Linked DNA regions of Homo sapiens: regions 1 and 2 are each linked to region 3. Evidence: promoter capture Hi-C in human tissues and cell types (Jung and others, 2019). All regions are on one chromosome and are shown on one strand. The core of a region is centred on a gene start or on the middle of the fragment in contact, and the rest is flanking DNA. Distances in the headings are between cores, read along the strand shown. Region 1 overlaps SLC25A32 (solute carrier family 25 member 32). Region 2 overlaps FZD6 (frizzled class receptor 6). Region 3 holds the start of CTHRC1 (collagen triple helix repeat containing 1).

Region 1 (4,366 bases), core at 1,793-4,292, 34 kb after region 3:
ATTCTGAAAGAATAAGGCAGAAAGTGACGAAAAAACATAAAAATAATATATTTATAAAATTCTTGCTTATAGGTCAGTAAAATCATATCAGCCTTAAAATGATTTTAAAAGCTATTACTCAATTCTTGAAAAACAAACTGAAATTCAATGTGTCTAATTTTGATTTTAACCTATGTATGCCTAAAAATTTCTTTATGGGGATAAGCAATAGATGGGAATAGAAGGCAGAAAAGGGGAAAATAAAAAGGAGTTATAAAATCAGAAAACAGATCTGACACTAGGAAAAAAATTTTTAAAATATTACAACAGGCAAAAGGCTGGGTTTGATTTGTTTCGTTATTTTTAAATTTATGTAAGATTTGAGATGAATAAAAAAACTCAATAAAATAAGATCCTGTTAGAACTGCTAATGTCTTCTCCAGACTACATTATCCCAGGTCCCCAAGAGACCACAGCTTCCAAGGAATGGAGTAAGGAATAAGTGACCTGGTTGTATAACTTATCAAATAGAAACTTGACAAAGTTTTAGACAGATCTCATGCCCACCAATGTCATGATGATACATCCTATGTTAATGGGGACAAACAGCTTAAAGTACAATTTCAGTATTATTAACTATATTTCAGTTTTCATTAAATTGTTTTTTGCCTAAGTGTGGCTTCTTTTTAGGACTTACTATAGGTCATTCAGAACTAAGACAACAGAGCCAACGGAAATTCAAATTTTTCAGTTATTTAAAATATATTGATAATTTGTTACCTTATATAATCCACGCACACCTTCATACTTATATATTTTCACAAGTGTATCAAACATTCCTTTATATTGTCGGTGTGGGGAGTTAACAACAGCATCATACTGTAACATAAGGCGAGTTTTTGTTACCCATAATGGGTTTGTAATGCAGAGGGTCATGGCTCCTAAAATGAGATTTCAATAAGATTATTCAGCATACAGATACTTTCGCACTTATGACAACCCAAATTAGAAACAGTACATTTATGTAAAAAAAAAAAAAAAAAAAAAGATAATGCACAGGACCATATCTGAAACTGTGAAATGTAGTTTCTGAGGCACAGTCTTAGGGTCAAAAGGTAGACATTGTTTTTGGTAGTCATAAAAAGTTCCTCATGCAGTTAGCTAGAGGTAAATTAAAAGGGAGATGGAAATGTGAAATGCTTTCTCTTTGAAGTGTAAGGATAGCAAAAATGTCTTGACTCCTAAACAACGTGGCCTGGTGCAGAGAACAGATGGTAAGCAGATACAGACCTTAGGTGTAGCACATGGTATAATCCCAGAGGGGTTGAAGATAGGCGAAAAGAACCAGGAATCTGGCACCCCAATAATCTGTGCATGTGACACATATATCTACCCCAACTTTATCACAATCTTCCTCAAATCCAAAGTAACTACTACCCCTCAAAAATTAAATAATTATGTAATACAGTAAGTCACATTTTACATCCTTTATAGAGTGACAATTTTATTAAAAAATTCATCTGGTTAAGTTTCTCATTTGCCAGGTTTCCTAAGTAGTCCTTTATTCAACAAATATTTGGTCCTGTTATGACTCAGGTTTTTGCTAGTGGCTATGTGTTCAAAAATGATTAAGTTAGGTTTTGACTAATCAACATTAAGAAATCAAGGTATTAAAGTAGGAGTTACAAAGACTTACGGCTCTTACTGTTTTTTCCTTCTGGATAGTATACATAAGTGAGGCGATTAAACAAGGCTACTAAATTGTATAATTTGAAAATTAAAATTATACTTTAAAGAAACACTATACCAAATCATTTTAAACCATTAGGGATTCATAACTTTTCTAAACTTTACCACTTTGTCATGAGTAAAATTCTTGAAATCTGCACAGAGTAATCATAATAATTTCTGCTAAGAAATTCCATATAACAGCCAGGCGTGGTGGCTCATGCCTGTAATCCCAGCACTTTGGGAGGCAGAGGCAGGTGGATCAAGAGGTCAAGAGATCGAGACAATTCTGGCCAACATGGTGAAACCCCATCTCTACTAAAAATACAAAAAATTAGCTGGGCGTGGTGGCACGTGTCTGTAGTCCCAGCTACTCAGGAGGCTGAGGCAGGATTATCGCTTGAAACCCGAAGGCAGAGGTTGCAGTGAGCCGAGATAGCGCCACCGCACTCCAGCCTGGGCGACAAGAGCGAAACTCCGCCTCAAAAAAAAAAACCAAAAACCGAAAAACAAACAAACAAAAAAAACAGAAATTCCATGTAACTGATTTAATACAGTTAGATGGGCATATTTAAACTCAGGTGTTCAAAGAAAAGAAATCAAAAACCAAAACTGAAAATTAAGTTTGGAAGGTGACATTTTTATATTTCACACATTGCCTTACCAGCTTCAGCAGCTGAGACAAGGTATTCTGTTGCCTCTAAACGTTCAGCTCTTCCTTCTGTTTTATATGACTTGATGGCATTGTAACTAAAAGAATTAAATGTGAGCAGTTTAATTTGAATAGGTGTCATTAAGTCTGTTTTAAAGTGTATGTAAGTCAACAGCAGTACCCCAAAAGCACAAGTCAATGCATAATGCAACCACAAAATGAGACCTTTTTCAAGAATGAATTTGCTGGAAGTGGTTTGCTGCAAGATTATACCACCCCTCCCTCTCAAATGAATACGGCTAGCAATACAAATGTAAAATATTTTAATCAGACACTCATCAATTAACTTCAAAAGACAAGGAAACTGGGAGGAGGGGAGAGTACAGTAGTGGTACACAGACTGGCCATAAAAGACAAAAGGGACCAAAGAAGGGGTACCTAACAAATATATACTGAGCACCTACGTTCAGGTACTATAGTTAGCTTTCTAATAGATGATAAAAAGATAAACAAGTGATGAATTTTTCTTAACAAATTAATAAGGACTATTAAGTGGCACACAAATAAATCATAATAAAAGACAACACAGACAATAGAAGAAATTCAGGAATTATGACTGAGATCACAGAAGGCTTTGTGTAGGAGGTAGTATTGAGCTGGGTATTGAGACAGGCACAGTTTCAACAAGGAAAAAGATGAGCATGGTGAAAAGTAATAAGGGTGGGTGGGAAGACAGGGAAAATTGGCCACACTTGAGTGGTAGATTGAGATTTGCATTTTATTTGGTAGAAAATATCCATTAAATGTTTCAGAGTAAGGGAGTCAAATCAGCCTATTTCCTTTAATGCCGATTTCTACTTTTCTCTTGGATGACGATGTCAAGTGAACACATTCTTTCTTTTTTTTTTTATTTCAGAGACAGAGTCTCACTCTATCACCCAGGCTGGAGTGCAGTGACACAATCATAGCTCACTGTAACCTTGAATTTCTAGGCTCAAGCAATCCTCCTGCCTCAGCCTCCTAATTAGCTAAGACTACAGGCATGCAGCATCATGATGCCAGACTAATTCTTTTTTAAATTTTTTGAAGAGATGGAGGTCTCACTATGTTGCCCAGGCTGGTCCTGAACTCCCAGACTCATGTGATCCTCCCACCTTGGCCTCCTAAAGTGCTGGGATTACAGGTGTGAGCCACTGCACCTGGCCCAAGAAATTCTTATCACAAAAATTTTATATGGCTTGTCCTTAGAAGCTGTCTTGAAGAATCTATACAACTCAAATTCATGATGTGTGTGTGTGTGTGTATATATATATATATACACACACACATATACATAAACATATCTATATATACATATATACATACATTCTATACACACATATATATGTCAAGGGGGGTGTGTGTGTATATAGTTTCACACACACCTCTCTAAAGAGAAGAAAAAGAGAAAAAATATTTAAACAATTTTAAGGCTGAATTTTATTTTGCTTTCACTTAAAAGATACTTTAAGATTGGTTTGGATACTGCCATAAACTTATGGGAGATCAAGCAAAATATATGACACAAAGAAGACAAAGGCAAATACACTAGATACTGATGTTTTCCTAAAAATGAAATCTGTTGAAGCAAAGAAAAGCTTCCTTATTCATGGTTTCAGTTTCACAGATCAGAGGCGTGCTCAGAGCAGCACATGCTCCTGCAATACAGTGCGATGATGGTTTGTGTCCATGTTCTTGTTCACTAAATAAGCTGAATGTGCCTGCCACAGGAACTTTCTATGGCTTCTTCAGGAGGCAGGTGAGAGCAGTTATTTTAAATGGTGATGATATCTGACTGGTGAAGGAGTAAGGAAAGCAATGAGCTGGGAAGATGATGGGGCAGGTCAAACAAGAAGAAACAATTTGCCTCAAACCCTTTAGGCCATGCACTGGCTTTTGCTTTCTGTTCCCAACAGCGATTTCCTGTGGTACCTATTCATATGAGGACCCTAAGGTCTATCCTCTCTG
Region 2 (4,371 bases), core at 1,751-4,250, 46 kb before region 3:
TAACTTATGAATGAATGTATCCATTCACTGACCTTTTCCACATTAGTCTTGATTAATTTTTTTTTCCTATTCTCTAGACAGTGGAGGCTGCTAATTTATTCTACTGATACAGTGAGACCTCATATAATAAATTGGGGAAAGAAACTGGTTAGCTTTTTGTTTTATTTTTAGGCTGAAGAAACTATAGAACCTATGTGGAACTTACACACTTCTGGTAGATACATAATCATTTTCAAGAACAATTGAGTAACATATAGTAAAATGGCAGATGCTTAACCCTGCATCCTAGGAAATCCCCTCCCATAGAAACTCTTACACAGAGAGTCGTGCACAAGAATATTGATTGTAGATTATTCCTAATTCTTTTAATGGGAAAAAATCTAAAAGTCCATCATAGAAGAATGATTAGTAAATTGTGATGTACTTACACACTGGAATACTACCATACAGTTGATAAAATGAATGTAGTTGACCCACATCTGTCGACATGGATAAATCTAGAAAATATAGTGTTAAATTTTAAAATGTAAGTTATAGCATGCTATATACAGCATGGTGTCATTTATATAAAGTTCAAAACCTGAAAAACAATACTTTATAAGGTTATAGTTAGTAAATAATGTAATAAAAATATTTTAAAATGCTTGAGAGTAAACACCGAATTTGTGGTAATGAATACTTCTGAGGAGAGAGAGAAGGAACTAAGACCAGAAAGGGTCCCCACTGTATCTATAATGTTATATTGCTTTATTTTAAAAGATATAAAGCAAAATTGACATAATATTATGTTTTAATAAAGCTGGTAGTTTTTTTTGTATTTCATTTTATGGGCATATGTTTTAGTCTGTTCTTATCTAAGGTATATTTAAAATGCTTTCTCATTTAAAACCTCCAGTACTTTTTTTTTTTTTCCTTGAGACAGAGTCTCTCTGTCTCCCAGGCTGGAGTGCAGTGGCTCGGTCTTGTCTCACTGCAACCTCCGCCTCCCAGGTTCAAGTGATTCTCCTGCCTCAGCTTCCCAAGTAGCTGGGATTACAGGCACCTGTCACCACGCCCAGCTAATTTTTGTATTTTTAGTAGAGATGGGGTTTCGCCATGTTGGCCAGTCTGGTCTTGAACACCTGACCTCAAGTTATCCACCTGCCTCAGCCTCCCAAAGTGCTGGAATTATAGGCATGAGCCACCGTACCTGGCCAAAACCTCCAATACTTTTTAAACCATTATAGATCCCCCAAAATAATACTGGTATGTACAAACTCAACTTAGTGATAAAGAGATGGAAATATCTCCATCTATCACTCAGGACTGTCCATAAACAAGGGAGGCAAAGAGCCCAACCTGAACAAAATGGTGATGTTCATTAAGCTGGTCCTCAGCCTGCCTCTTGCTGGTATACTTGCCTGTCTTTAAAAACTTGAACTCTATCCTGTCAATCCAGGGAAGGATCTCATTTCATTCATTTTAATTATCATCACTTTAGTTATATGGTTGCTTTACTTTTCTTATGGACATTAGAAAATAAAAGTGAATAGACAAGATATATTTCATATGATATAAAGACATATTTCATATGCTATAAAGAGACAAGCCAGTACTTATCTGGAGCCTACCAATTAAGATAAATTCTTTTAAATATTTAGTCTTAAAAACAGAAATTATTTTAAAATTATGAATTGGCTAATTTTTTCCAAGTAAGTGCATTTTCATGTTCACCTGCTTTGTATTTAATATAAATTATTGTGTTGAGGCCCCATTAACAGCCACAAGTTTTTAGTCAACTTCAAAAATTTCTACTCAACTCTTATCTGTAATCCATTTAGATTTGTATCTCTTCCCATCAATCATGAATACATAAGGTAATATTTTATAGTTGGAAAGCATTGCTTAATATATTGAATCAATAAAAATGTTGATTTCATATATTTAATTTTTATAATCTTTACAGATTACAATACTGTGATGAGACTGTTCCTGTAACTTTTGATCCACACACAGAATTTCTTGGTCCTCAGAAGAAAACAGAACAAGTCCAAAGAGACATTGGATTTTGGTGTCCAAGGCATCTTAAGACTTCTGGGGGACAAGGATATAAGTTTCTGGGAATTGACCAGTGTGCGCCTCCATGCCCCAACATGTATTTTAAAAGTGATGAGCTAGAGTTTGCAAAAAGTTTTATTGGAACAGTTTCAATATTTTGTCTTTGTGCAACTCTGTTCACATTCCTTACTTTTTTAATTGATGTTAGAAGATTCAGATACCCAGAGAGACCAATTATATATTACTCTGTCTGTTACAGCATTGTATCTCTTATGTACTTCATTGGATTTTTGCTAGGCGATAGCACAGCCTGCAATAAGGCAGATGAGAAGCTAGAACTTGGTGACACTGTTGTCCTAGGCTCTCAAAATAAGGCTTGCACCGTTTTGTTCATGCTTTTGTATTTTTTCACAATGGCTGGCACTGTGTGGTGGGTGATTCTTACCATTACTTGGTTCTTAGCTGCAGGAAGAAAATGGAGTTGTGAAGCCATCGAGCAAAAAGCAGTGTGGTTTCATGCTGTTGCATGGGGAACACCAGGTTTCCTGACTGTTATGCTTCTTGCTATGAACAAAGTTGAAGGAGACAACATTAGTGGAGTTTGCTTTGTTGGCCTTTATGACCTGGATGCTTCTCGCTACTTTGTACTCTTGCCACTGTGCCTTTGTGTGTTTGTTGGGCTCTCTCTTCTTTTAGCTGGCATTATTTCCTTAAATCATGTTCGACAAGTCATACAACATGATGGCCGGAACCAAGAAAAACTAAAGAAATTTATGATTCGAATTGGAGTCTTCAGCGGCTTGTATCTTGTGCCATTAGTGACACTTCTCGGATGTTACGTCTATGAGCAAGTGAACAGGATTACCTGGGAGATAACTTGGGTCTCTGATCATTGTCGTCAGTACCATATCCCATGTCCTTATCAGGTAAAAGCTATCACTTGGATTATGTCTCTATTTACATTTAATGTAGAAAATGTTTCATGGAAATATACTTGTCATGGATGTAAAAGTTGATTTCAGGTGAGAAAATACAAGAGCCATAGGTAAGGATTTCCTATACATCAACTGAAACTGGGATGAATGTTTCATGACTTCCTTCCTCAAGCTTTAGCTTCAGTTGTATAGTAAAGCACTTCCTTTATTCTCTGAAAAATTAAATTGAGCTGCAAAGGCAGATTAATAGCAATAAAGAGCAGAGTCAGAAGAACAGACCTTGACATTGGGAGAAAAACAGAAGTCACTTTTGTCGCATTGGCAATTATTTTTAATTTTTTAGTTAGTAGTAAAAAATCTTATTTGGATATATTTAATTTGATCATATTATCTTATAGCTTTTTACATAGTATATACTTACAAAAACAGAATTTGCTTTTTGCCTGACTCATCTGTCATTTCTCAATTGAAAAAAACACAGTTGTAACAAAATATGCTTTATCTATTTCTGATTCTTATGATTAGTATAAGGGTGGTGTTTTTAAAATTAATAAAAGTAAATTTCTGAAAATATAAAATTTCTTAAAGCATTTTAGTTGAAGTTTTGTAAATAGAAATTTGGTTTTGTTTTAGTAGATTTTAGACATTATTCCTGACTCTGTGCGGTATTAACTGCATTGAACATGAGCACTGCCATCACAGTGTATCAAATTAAGCAATGGGAATGTCAAACTATTTCATATAATAGCTTATATTTCAGAAAGTTACTGCTTTATAACATTGTGGAATCTATTTTTTATGTTGGTATGTGGGGATACTAGTTTTACTTGCCTTATACGTTGTCCATAATCTATTATCCATAGTTTGTTTTTACTATATACTTAATAAGAGGCTGTGTCTTAAAGTGATCCTGCTATATTAATAATGACTCCTAGTTTCCTCAGTCTTTTTGGCAAGGTTGGGGAGAGGAAACTATTACATATTATTAAAAAGTTTAAGATCTATGGTTTTCAAGTTTAAGATCTGTAGTTATTATGTTTTATGTAAGAAACTGTAAAATATAATAGAATTAGAAAATTATAATCTTCAAGTGGAGAAGGATATAATATTCCTGTAGTTGTAGAAATTATAAAAGATTGCTAAATTTGACTAAGTAAAAAAAAATTTTTTTAAAGATTCTGCGTGACAAAAAAAAACAAACAAACAATCCATAATCAATGTCAAAAGACTAACTGGGAAAGTTTATTTGCATATGACATCATAGCTGAAAGGCTAATTTCTCTAATTTATAAAGAGTTGCTACAGATCAATAAGAAAAAAACCATCCATCTGATATAAAAATGAGAAAAGAGTAGGAAAAAGGTTCACAGGAAATAAAAATGAAAAAACTATTCTTAAA
Region 3 (4,774 bases), core at 10-2,509:
CCTCAGTTTCCTCATTCGTTTATGAGAGTAGCCCAGGAGGCATCTACCCCTCCCAACCCGCCAGGATTGCTGAGAGGACAGAGTACGCGTGCAAGGTTTTGCAATGTGCCAGAGCTTAGTAAGTGTTAGCACTTATGAAAACAGCGTTTATATATCATTTGGGTCATGGGACTCTTGGAAAACCTGATGATACCTATGGTTTCTTCCTGCCTCCGCCCCACCCCCACCTTCCAGCCTCCAAAAATGTCACCTCCAAAAAACAAATAAGGCAGGGCGCGGTGGCTCACGCCTGTAATCCCAGCACTTTGGGAGGCCGAGGCGGGCGGATCACAAGGTCAGGAGATCTAGACTATCCTGGCTAACACGGTGAAACCCCGTCTCTACTAAAAATATAAAAAATTAGCCGGGGCCGGGCGCGGTGGCTCACGCCTGTAATCCCAGCACTTTGGGAGGCCGAGGCGGGTGGATCACGAGGTCAGGAGATCGAGACCATCCTGGCTAACACGGTGAAACCCCGTCTCTACTAAAAATACAAAAAATTAGCCGGGCGTGATGGCGGGCGCCTGTAGTCCCAGCTACTCGGGAGGCTGAGGCAGGAGAATGGCGTGAACCCGGGAAGCGGAGCTTGCAGTGAGCCGAGATCGCGCCACTGCACTCCAGCCTGGGCGACAGAGCGAGACTCCGTCTCAAAAAAAAAAAAAAAAAAAAAAAAAAAAAAATTAGCCGGGCGTGGTGGCGGGTGCCTGCAGTCCCAGCTGCTCTGGAGGCTGAGGCAGGAGAATGGCGTGAACCCGGGAGGCGGAGCTTGCAGTGAGCCTAGATGGCGCCACTGCACTCCAGCCTGGGCGACAGAGCGAGACTCTGTCTCAAAAACAAACAAACAAACAAAAAACAAATAAGACTCGCCGACCCATGCCATAGATTGACGACCCTTGAAGGTGGCTCGTGTACCCAGGTTAAGCCACGTGTCTCTAAAATGTTCATTTAGGCGGCGCTGTGTTACCTGCGGGAATCCCCGACCTGCGGCTCCTGACCACGGGCCACCCCGCCCAGACCCTGCAGGCGGGCTCTCCACGAGGGTCTGCGCAGCCCCGCGGGGGTCCTGACAGGCCGAGCGACTGCAGTAGGAGGGGGCGGGCCCGGCTCTCGGTCCGCCCCCACGCCGGGCTCGGGGTGGGGGCTCGGGGCCTATTACGGGATGGAAGCTCCGGGTGTCGCGGGGGCGGGAGGAATTAAGGGAGGGAGAGAGGCGCGCGGGTGAAAGGCGCATTGATGCAGCCTGCGGCGGCCTCGGAGCGCGGCGGAGCCAGACGCTGACCACGTTCCTCTCCTCGGTCTCCTCCGCCTCCAGCTCCGCGCTGCCCGGCAGCCGGGAGCCATGCGACCCCAGGGCCCCGCCGCCTCCCCGCAGCGGCTCCGCGGCCTCCTGCTGCTCCTGCTGCTGCAGCTGCCCGCGCCGTCGAGCGCCTCTGAGATCCCCAAGGGGAAGCAAAAGGCGCAGCTCCGGCAGAGGGAGGTGGTGGACCTGGTGAGTCCGAGGGAGCCGAGCCGGGACCGCCGCGCTGGTGGAGGGGACCTGGCCGCGCGCCCCACGGGCAGGGCGTCAGTCTGGCTGTTGGGGGTGTCTGTCTGTACAGCTGTGTGTCGTGTGTCTTGCTGCGCCGGGGTGTCATGCTTTTTATTTACAGGTGAAGAAGGACCTGGTTATGCGTGCAGTGAGTCTTGGAACTCAGAGGGGAGACCAAAATGGGAGGCCATCGTGGAGCGGACATGCGATATGGGCCCGGTGGGTCTCCCCGAAGTACAGGGAGTCCCCCAATAATTTCTGGCCCCAGGGGGACCCCTTGGGAAGGGTGGGAGGGATAGGGCGGCAGTGAGAGTAGGATGAGGAGCTTGGGTACGTCCGAAGTGGACCTGGGAAAAACCCTGGCCTCGCTGATCACATGGACCTGGGCCTGGGCCAGGGCGGTGCAACGTGTCCTTTGTTGGGGCTGGTGGCCACGTCTGCCTGCGAGAGAGAATAACAACCCCCACAAAGCATCCGTCCAACTCTTTGTAACTTGAAGACTATGAGTCACGTTGGGTCATCTTCCTAGGGAGTATGGGCTGCAATTTACTTTGTTGGACAACCACAGCTGGGGCTAGGAATGGTTCAGAAGGTTTAAGGCCGGAAAGGGAAATGAAGGGGCCCGGCGCTAACCCTCTAAGGACCTGTTTTGCTTCTGTTTAAACCAAATGGGCAGTCTGTCATTACACACACCCTGGGTCTTCATATGTGGCCGCCAGGTAGGAGCATCACAGTCAAGCTACGGGAGAAAACAGTTTCCAGGAAACTGGAAATGAACGGCCCGAGTGCTTTCCAGGGGCTCATCTGTGGGAAGGTATGTTTGCTTAAAATCCTTCCCTCTAAAAATCAACAAACCCAGTGGAGGGCGGAGAGGTTCTCTGGCCTGTGGTATGAGGGAGCCTTTCAGAGCTACCGTAGTCCTTGGCATATTATAAACTTCAGTCTCACTTGCAGACAAACATGATTTACAGGCATTGCAAGACATAAGTTGGGGCATTTTTTTTTAATTAAAAAGAAAGTTTTGAATTTGTTAAGCTGCCATTTTAAACTGAGCTAATATACCAAGTTCCCTGGCAGCTAGTTCTGTATTGGATTCAAAAGTGCTGGGAAAAAAATTCCCGCCATTTCACACAGCACTTTTTGGTGGTAGGCTGTGTAATTTTGATCCACAAAAGGGGACTATGTGTTCAGGCAACAGTTCTATTTTAAGTGTCCAAATTATTAAAACTGTGCCAAATGAGTATGGTTCATGTGTAGTTTGCATTTTATGAGTCTGTAGTTATGATACACAAAATACCCATTTTTCCTGTGAAGCTTGCTATTTTCCCCCCTTCAAGGATTTACAGTACCTGTGGTTTCCCACAACTCTAGCCAGACTTGGAAAAGATTTTGCAGTCAGGCTCAGGTGCATCCTGTAGGTTGGATTTGGTTTTGCTGACAGAAGAAGTCCACAGTCATTAAGGTTTCAACAGATTCTATAAAGCAACTTCTTTGTATAGGATCTTTCAAAGCGTTCCTTTCAAGCTTCCACAAAGCTCTGCCCCCTGGTGGCCAGTGAAAGAAACAGGGGCGTATAAAAGTGCGCTTCCCTTCACATCTTTTTTTTTTCATTCCACAGACATTTATTGAGAGTACTAAGCATATGTTGGGTTAGCATTTTAAAGTAGAAGACTGATGTAACACCTGCGGAATCGAGTCAAGTAAAGTTATATAGTCTTTGAAATGTATCTTTTAGATGAAAAGGTGAATAAAAATTCCCAATATGGCACAATGGACATGTTGGGCCAGATAATTCTTGTGGGGACTTGTCCTGTCCGTTGTCGCGTGTTTAGCAGCATCGTTTGTACATACTAGATGCCAGTAGCAATCCCCTCTCCCAAGTTGTGACAACCAAAAATGTCTCTAGACATAGCCAAGTGTCCCCTGGAGGACAAAATTGTCCCCAGTTGAGATCCACTGATATATAATGAAGTAAAATTTAGTCTGTGTAGCATCTTGCCCTGAGGGGAATAATAGTGAAAAAAATCAAAGAATATCAGAAGCAGTCTTATTCCCATTTGAAATGTATGTCTAAACATTGTATATATCTGCTTGTGAGAGTGAATTAAATTACTAAAATAAAAATAAAGTCTAAAACACACCAAACTATTTTGAAATATTTTGCACTTTTAAAATGCTTTACTTTTTGTGTCTTTGAATACTTTTGTAATTGTTAAATGCTTTTTCTTTTCTTTTTTTTAACTATTTCTCTGACAGTAAATAAGTAGTAGTGTCTTTTTCTTCTTACAGTCAGGAAAATGGCGATGTCAAAGACTTAAAAAGTCATTTATCAAACCAAAACTCAAACTGGCGATGGAGACACAAATTGATTAGCAAGCATCAGTCTAATTATATAGGATTCTTCCCAGACAACTATTGGATTTTATCATCCAATCCCAGATACTGTAGTCAAAAGATAAGCTTTGAAGTTACTTTAATATCTAAGAAACTTTGTTTTTTGTTTTCATTGGGAAATATAGTTATACAGAATAATACTAGGCAACTTACACAAATAGAGGAAATGTTAGAGTAAACATTTAAATGGATTGCATTGGGTTTTGGAGTGTCTAATAAACGGCACCTTTGTTCCTAGCTGAACCAATTCAGGTGTAGACACAGGAATTAGACAGGTGGGGCACAGGATATCACCTTTACCACTGATCATACAGCATTGGCATGTATGGCTTATGTGTGCTAGGCTGGTGGGTTTGCTAATGCTCTCTTCCCCAGGTCTAAATCCTGAAAGGTCCACCCAGGGCAGTGGACACACTTACCCAGAGTTGCTGCCTTGCACTGGTCCTGGGGAACATAGGAATAATAATGGCTGACACATACAGTGTTTACTGTGTTCCAGGCATTGTTCTAAGCACATTTTATATATTATTCACTTAAATCTCATACAAACCCTATAAAGTAAGACTCTTTATTATTATCCACATTTTACAGATAAGGAAACAGGCACCAAAATGTTGAGTAATTTGCCCTATCTCACAGAGCTAATGTAAGGTGGAGCCGGGACAAAATCCAAAGAAACTGGCTCTAGAATCCATGCATTTAAATGCTACAAGATGTCCTTCTCCAAACAAACAGAAAATCATAGTCCTTACAGACAGTTTGACAGATTGTGGATGGTCCCCTATTGAGAACTAATGGTCACTTGAAACTGGG

The links. The method cuts DNA at HindIII sites, captures the fragments that hold promoters and counts their contacts. A contact is called where the count stands out against the background at its distance.
Region 1: a fragment that was not itself captured here is called in contact with the fragment with the promoter of CTHRC1 in region 3 in 1 of the 25 tissues and cell types used here (hippocampus).
Region 2: a contact is called between a fragment that was not itself captured here and the fragment with the promoter of CTHRC1 in region 3, in 1 of the 25 tissues and cell types used here (H1 embryonic stem cells).

The regions. Positions count from the first base shown.
Region 1 is chr8:103,402,405-103,406,770 of GRCh38, forward strand. SLC25A32 (solute carrier family 25 member 32) reads right to left here. Exons shown (of 7, transcript NM_030780.5): 3 at 2,372-2,457; 4 at 760-920. Among named protein-coding and RNA genes, the nearest start is that of SLC25A32, 11 kb to the right of the region's middle. The HindIII fragment of the contact is 5,860 bases long and covers 113-4,366 here.
Region 2 is chr8:103,322,536-103,326,906 of GRCh38, forward strand. It overlaps FZD6 (frizzled class receptor 6), which reads left to right. Exons shown (of 7, transcript NM_003506.4): 4 at 1,946-2,963. Among named protein-coding and RNA genes, the nearest start is that of SNORD173, 16 kb to the left of the region's middle. The HindIII fragment of the contact is 6,528 bases long and covers 1-4,371 here.
Region 3 is chr8:103,370,279-103,375,052 of GRCh38, forward strand. It overlaps CTHRC1 (collagen triple helix repeat containing 1), which reads left to right and starts at 1,260. Exons shown (of 4, transcript NM_138455.4): 1 at 1,260-1,528. The coding sequence starts at 1,379. RefSeq lists enhancers at 920-1,714, 1,715-2,508, 3,006-3,135, 3,146-3,195 and a silencer at 1,144-1,263. The HindIII fragment of the contact is 7,309 bases long and covers 1-3,559 here.